Linked DNA regions of Homo sapiens: region 1 is linked to region 2. The links are contacts of gene promoters, found by promoter capture Hi-C in human tissues and cell types (Jung and others, 2019). All regions are on one chromosome and are shown on one strand. The core of a region is centred on a gene start or on the middle of the fragment in contact, and the rest is flanking DNA. Distances in the headings are between cores, read along the strand shown. Region 1 overlaps TUBGCP3 (tubulin gamma complex component 3). Region 2 holds the start of ANKRD10 (ankyrin repeat domain 10).

Region 1 (2,962 bases), core at 382-2,881, 1.7 Mb after region 2:
CGAGCACTGGCTTCAACAACTTCAGTCACCTGCTGCATTAGCCCCAGACAAGAGTCGGCTTATTCTTTGTAGCTCTGAAGGAAGGCACTAACTTCTCCTCTCTAGGAATGAAAGTTGGCATCTTATTAGACGCCAATAAGATGGCATCTTATTCCAATAGAAGGGTGTTTCACTTACACTGAAAATCTGTTGTTAGTGTAGCCACCTTCCCCAATGATCTCAGCTAGTTCTGGATGACTTGCTGCAGCTTCTCCATTAGCAGGTGCTGCTTCACCTTGCATTTTTATGTTATGGAGACAGCTTCTTTCCTTCAGTCTCATGAACTAAAAACCCCTGCTAGCTTCTAACTTTTCTTCTGCAGCTTCCTCACCTCTCTCAGCCTTCACAGAATTAAGGTCTTGCTCAAGATTAGGTTTTGGCTTAAAGGAATGCTGTGGCTGGTTTGATCTTCTATCCAGACCACTCAAACTTTCTCCATATTAGCAATAAGGCTGTTTCAATTTATTACTCTTGTGTTCACTGGAATAGCATTTGTAATTTCCTTCAAGAACTTTTCCTATTCAATCACAACTTGACTAACTGGCATAAGAGGCCTAGCTTCTCGCGTATCTCAGCTTTTGGCATGCCTTCCTCACCAAGCTTAACCATTTCTAGCTTTTGATTTAAAGTGAGAGGCATGTGACTCTTCATTTCACTTGAACACTAATTTCTTTTATTATTATTTCTTCTAAAAAACAAAAAGCGGGATACATGTGCAGAACGTGCAGGTTTGTTACACAGGTACACGTGTGGCAGGTTTGTTACATAGGTATACGTGTGCTGTGCTGGTTTGCGGCACCTAATGACCCGTCCTCTAAGTTCCCGCCCCTCACCCCCCACCCTCCAACAGGCTCTGGTGTGTGTTGTTCCCCTCTCTGTGTCCATGTGTTCTCACTGTTCAACTCCCACTTATGAGTGAGAAGGTCATGTTTGGTTTTCTGTTGATCACTAATTTCACTTAAACAGTAAGAGGTCACTGTAAGGCTATTAACTGGCCTAATTTCAATATTGTTGTGACTCAGGAAATAGGGAGGCCTGAGGAGAGAGGGTGAGACAGGGAACAGCTGGTCGGCAGAGTAGTCAGAACATACACAACACTTTTTGATTAAGTTTGCGCACTTCATGGCACCCCAAAACAATTACAACAGCAGCATCAAAGATCACAAGTTACACATCAACGTAACAGATGTAATAATCATGAAAAAGTCTGAAATACTGTGAGAATTTCCAAATATGACACAGAGATACAAAGTGAGCACATGCTGTTGGAAAAATGGTACCTAAAGACTTGCCCAACGCAGGGTGCCAAAAACTTCCAATTGTCAAATAACGCAGTATCTGTAAAGGACAATAAGATGACGTGTGCCTGTCCTCCACAAGGAAGCTCAGCACTGGGCAAATGCTGCCCTAGCCAAGACCTTCCGACAACTCCACTCTTAAAGATGAAAAGAACAGGTATCGCCAGATACCTGAGGGCATCATCTAAAACAAAAAGGAGACAAACACAAGAAGGAAAAAAGGAAACTCTAAGAAAAAGTAACAACGTAGGGAATAAGAAAATGGGGGCAAGATGTACAAAAACAAGCTATAATGGCCTACGAGATTAGACATAACACATCCATGAAACAAAACAGTATGCCATAAATTCAGAGAAGACAAGCTCTTGAATATTAAAAGTATGAAGGCAGATGTTTTTTAAAATAAGTAGAAAGCTTGTATTTAAAGTTGAAGAAGTCTCTCAAAAACTAAAACAAAAAGGCAAAAAGATGGAAATTACGACAGCCAAGACAAGGAAATCACCAGATCAGCCCAGGCAGAAGTGGGGAGGGAGAAACCTGGAGTGGAATAAATGTCCAAAGAAGTCATACAAGACAGAAAGGATGAGAAGGGAAGGGCCTTGGAAGTTACATGGTTCACAGCAACTGCCTTAGCCCCAGGAAAAAATCCAGGCTCTCATCTCTGCAGAGGCAAACTCCCAATCTGAGGAACTCCCACCCTCAGTACAAGGGATCTGGGAGAAGAATGTTCCCCACTACAATCTCAGCAGCAAAAGAACGTCAAGGGTCAGGAAGAAATCTTTCAGAAAGCCTCCACCTTCCGAAAGCAATCACTTCAATAAGTGGATTGGAGCTGGTGCCAGGGTGGGATAGCCTGCCTGTCTGCCCAACTTCTATGACTCTAGAAGTCAAGTTACCAGTAGATACCTCCAGATCCCCCCACCCCCACCACTGAGTGCTGGGCCCAGTTCAACCCGGGATGCAGAGGAGCAGCCCAACAGGGCAGTGCCCAGCTGCATCTGCCAGCAAAAGCCAACACTGTTCTCCATCCTAGGAAGGAAGTGGAACTATGAGTGGCACCTGGAAATTCAAGTGGGCACTCTGAGCTCAGTATGGCTTCCTCTGCCCAATCCGCAGAGAATCTTTAAGTGAGCACTCTGAGCTCACAGTGTGGCTTCCCCTGCCCAATCCACAGAGAATCTTCAAGTGGGCACTCTGAGCTCAGTGTGGCTTCCCCTGCCCAATCCACAGAGAATCTTCAAGTGGGCACTCTGAGCTCACAGTGTGGCTTCCCCCTGCCCAATCCACAGAGAATCTTCAAGTGGGCACTCTGAGCTCACAGTGTGGCTTCCCCCTGCCCAATCCACAAAGAATCTTCAAGTGGGCACTCCACGCTCACAGTGTGGCTTCCCCTGCCCAATCCACAGAGAATCTTCAAGTGAGCACTCTGAGCTCAGTGTGGCTTCCCCCTGCCCAATCCACAGAGAATCTTCAAGTGGGCACTCTGAGCTCAGTGTGGCTTCCCCTGCCCAATCCACAGAGAATCTTCAAGTGGGCACTCTGAGCTCACAGTGTGACTTCCCCTGCCCAATCCATAGACAATCCAAAATCCCCAGAAATGTAACAAAGGATTTAAGGAAGATATA
Region 2 (3,110 bases), core at 316-2,815:
CACCCCGATCGTCAAAACTCCTTTTCATTTCTTTTATTGAAAGAAAAGTGACTTTTCCACTTTAAAAGAATCAGAAACTGCTTTCCAAAAGACACAGCTGCTTTGTGAATGTAGCACCAGGGGCAGCAAGGTAAACCGCAACTTCATCAGCTGGTAACGACATTACCAGGGCCAGGCCTTCTTAAAGTAACTTATTTCACATTACCTCTCACATATTTCTGCAAAACCATTTAACCCCATCTCATCACTTACGAGAAAAACACTATACACATCCCTGAATTTCAGTGAATTAAGAAATATTAATTAAAACCAGTCACTTCTGAAATGCACGGTGAAATCTTATTTAAGATTTCTGAGAGCAAGTACCCCAACGACTTCACAGATGAGGAAACGGTAGCTATCCAACCTTTTAAAACCTTAAAGCAGCACTGTGTTCCCCCAGAATTTTCAGTTTAAGAAAAAAGAGGGGAACGTAAAGCCTCCACGGGAAGAGAATTCTGCTTAATTTAACCACTTCTGCAGTAATTTAGATCCAAGATAAACACAGCCGTCACTAATTTTGCTGAAGCGGGGCCAGCTACAAGCCTTAAAGCAAACCCAGAAGCTGGAGAGCCGGCCTCCATCCCACACAGCTGCCGGGGCCTTCCAGTCCCGCCGGGGCGCTTGCTCCTCGGCTGAGCTCGTCCGCAGCGCGGCCCTCGGCTACTGGCGAGGCTGTGCGGAACCAGAAGGTCGACCGCGCCCGGGCATTCCCCGCGCGCCTCTGACCCCAGCTCGGCTCCCCGGAAGCCGCCTGGGCGACTTCGCGGCCTAATACCCGGCTCTGCGAAATCGCTCGCGCCTCCGGCCCGGCCTGGAGGGCCCCGCACCATCCGCGCGCGCGCGCGCTCGCACAGGATCCGGCCAACAGGCGCCGGGACCCTTGGAGCCCGCCTTGTTAGAAACTTGCTACGCGCGCCGCCGCACATGCGCCCTAGGCCCCTCCGGACGCAGGCGCCACCGACCTCGCTTCCGCCCCGCGCCCCCCGGCTGCCCCGCCGCGACTCCGGGCCGCGAGCGCTGCCGCACAGGCGCCCTAGGCCCCTCGGGGCACAGGCGCCGTCGATCCCGCTTCCGCCCCGCGATCCCGGCACGCCCCACGTCCCCCGCACCTCAGACCCGCTTTCCCCGACTCCCACTGGACAGCCGGGGAAAATGGCGCCTTAAAGCGTTCGCACCCACCTTGCCGAAATGCGCGGCCCAGTGCACGGGCGTCCAGCCATAGAAGGAGTCCTCAGAGGCCAGGTGGGCGTGGGGTGTCTGCTGCAGCAGCGAGCAGAGCGTGGCCAGGTCCCCGTCGCGGCAGGCGCGGTGCAGCGGGAAACGGAGCGAGAGCAGCTCCTCGCTGGAGAAGCCCGCCTCTACGCCCGCGCCCGCTCCCGCCGCCGACATGGTCCGTCACCGGAGAGCGCGGGGCTCGCTGGCCTAGAGGACGCGTCGGGGAGGACTCGAGAAGCCGCCGCCGCAGCACAAAGGAACGAGACTAGCGCCGCGGTCGCGTCCCACAGGCTGCCGAGCGGAGCGCGCACAGAGGGGGCGGGGCGGGGCCTGGAGCGGCCGGGCTGGGGGCGGGGCCTGGCCCAGAGGACGCCTTGTGCAGCCGGGCAGGGGTCGGGGCCTGGAGCCGCGGACCTCTGGAGCCGCCGGGCAGGGGGCGGGGCTTGAGCCGGAGGCCGCCTGGAGCAGCCGGGCGGAGGGCGGGGCTTGGAGCTGCGGACGCCTGGAGCGGCCGGTAGGTGGCGGGGTCTAGCCTAGAGGATGCCTGGAGCAGCCGGGTAGGGAGCGGAGCCTGGACCAGAGGACGCCAGCAGCAGCCGATTAGGAGGCGGGGCATGGGGCTGTCGACGTCTGGAGCAGCCGGGCATTGGGCTTGGGCTAGAGGACGCCTGGGGCGGTGGGCGCCTGGAGTAGCCAGGCAGAGGGCGGGGCCTGGCTTGGGTCCACGCCTGGGGCGGCCGGGGGCGGGGCCTGGCTGGAATTGACGCGTGGAGCTCCGGTGGAGGGGGCGGGGCCTGGCTGGGCCGCTGCCTACAGCGGCTTCCGGGGCTTGGAGGTCACGGGGCTCGGAGGTCACGGGGCTCGGAGGTCACGGGGCTGGCTGTGTGGGGGGCTCAGGGGCGTAGAGTGGCCAAGCAGCGGTCTGAGCGGGTCCCGGGGCCTCCGGCGCGGTGGGTCTCGGCTGCGCCCCGGGTGCGGACCATGATGTTTCCAGCCTGGGAGCCGGTCCGGGCGGGGAATCCCGGCTGCCGGGGGCGCGGGTTGAGGCTCTGCGGGCCCGCGCCCAGAGCGGGTGGGAGTCACGGGTCTCCCGGAGGCCCAGTAGCGCGCGGTGAAGTTGTCCAGTAAAAATTTATGGAGCGCCTACGGGGAGCAGGGATTCTCGTTAAAATCTGGGAATCAGCAAGCCCTAGTTCCTTACAGAGCAGGACAGATTCCTCGGTTTTGTCCGAGGGACGCCTTCTTCGGAACCGAGTGCGGTGGGCTAGGACTATACGTTTGCAAGTTTAAGAGATAAGCGAGAAGACCAGACAGAGCAAACAATAAAAGGCTTTTTGTTGAGAACTGTATAAATGTAAGGGAGTACCAAATCCCCTATTTTGAATGACAGTATCACGGACTTTATTACATATGTAATTTTATTCTGATTATGAAAGCATCAGTAATTTCACTATTGAGGAATAACCACAATGTTTATGAATATTTCCTTTGCTTCTAAATATGCGGTCTTTTTAAATCATGTATTTTATTTCATTTGTATATATAGTTTTTCGCTGTGTAAACTTCCTTTTTGCAAAATTCTACGTCACAAATTGAACAAGGCAATTAGATGTCTAGGGAAGTACTGATGCACGAGAAAGCATATTGCAGCATTGGTTAATAAAACGAAAAAATAGAAACCTAAGATTTAACAAAGGGAAGTTGTTAACTAGTGGTGTAAACACTCAACACAGACATGTCTTCATACAGCAAACATTTGTTGAGTACAATGCTGAATGAAACACATTGAGAAACACTCTATAGTGGGGAAGTAGCAAATATTTCAATTCAGTGAGCAATTGCTAATGAATGGA

What was found. The method cuts DNA at HindIII sites, captures the fragments that hold promoters and counts their contacts. A contact is called where the count stands out against the background at its distance.
Region 1: a contact is called between a fragment that was not itself captured here and the fragment with the promoter of ANKRD10 in region 2, in 1 of the 25 tissues and cell types used here (lymphoblastoid cells).

Annotation. Positions count from the first base shown.
Region 1 is chr13:112,571,549-112,574,510 of GRCh38, forward strand. The region is part of intron 1 of TUBGCP3 (tubulin gamma complex component 3); the gene reads right to left. Among named protein-coding and RNA genes, the nearest start is that of TUBGCP3, 15 kb to the right of the region's middle. The HindIII fragment of the contact is 4,851 bases long and covers 1-2,962 here.
Region 2 is chr13:110,913,504-110,916,613 of GRCh38, forward strand. ANKRD10 (ankyrin repeat domain 10) reads right to left here and starts at 1,566. Exons shown (of 6, transcript NM_017664.4): 1 at 1,222-1,566. The coding sequence starts at 1,431. RefSeq lists enhancers at 178-854, 578-707, 2,206-2,880 and silencers at 818-1,187, 1,458-2,117, 2,248-2,407. The HindIII fragment of the contact is 23,501 bases long and covers 1-3,110 here.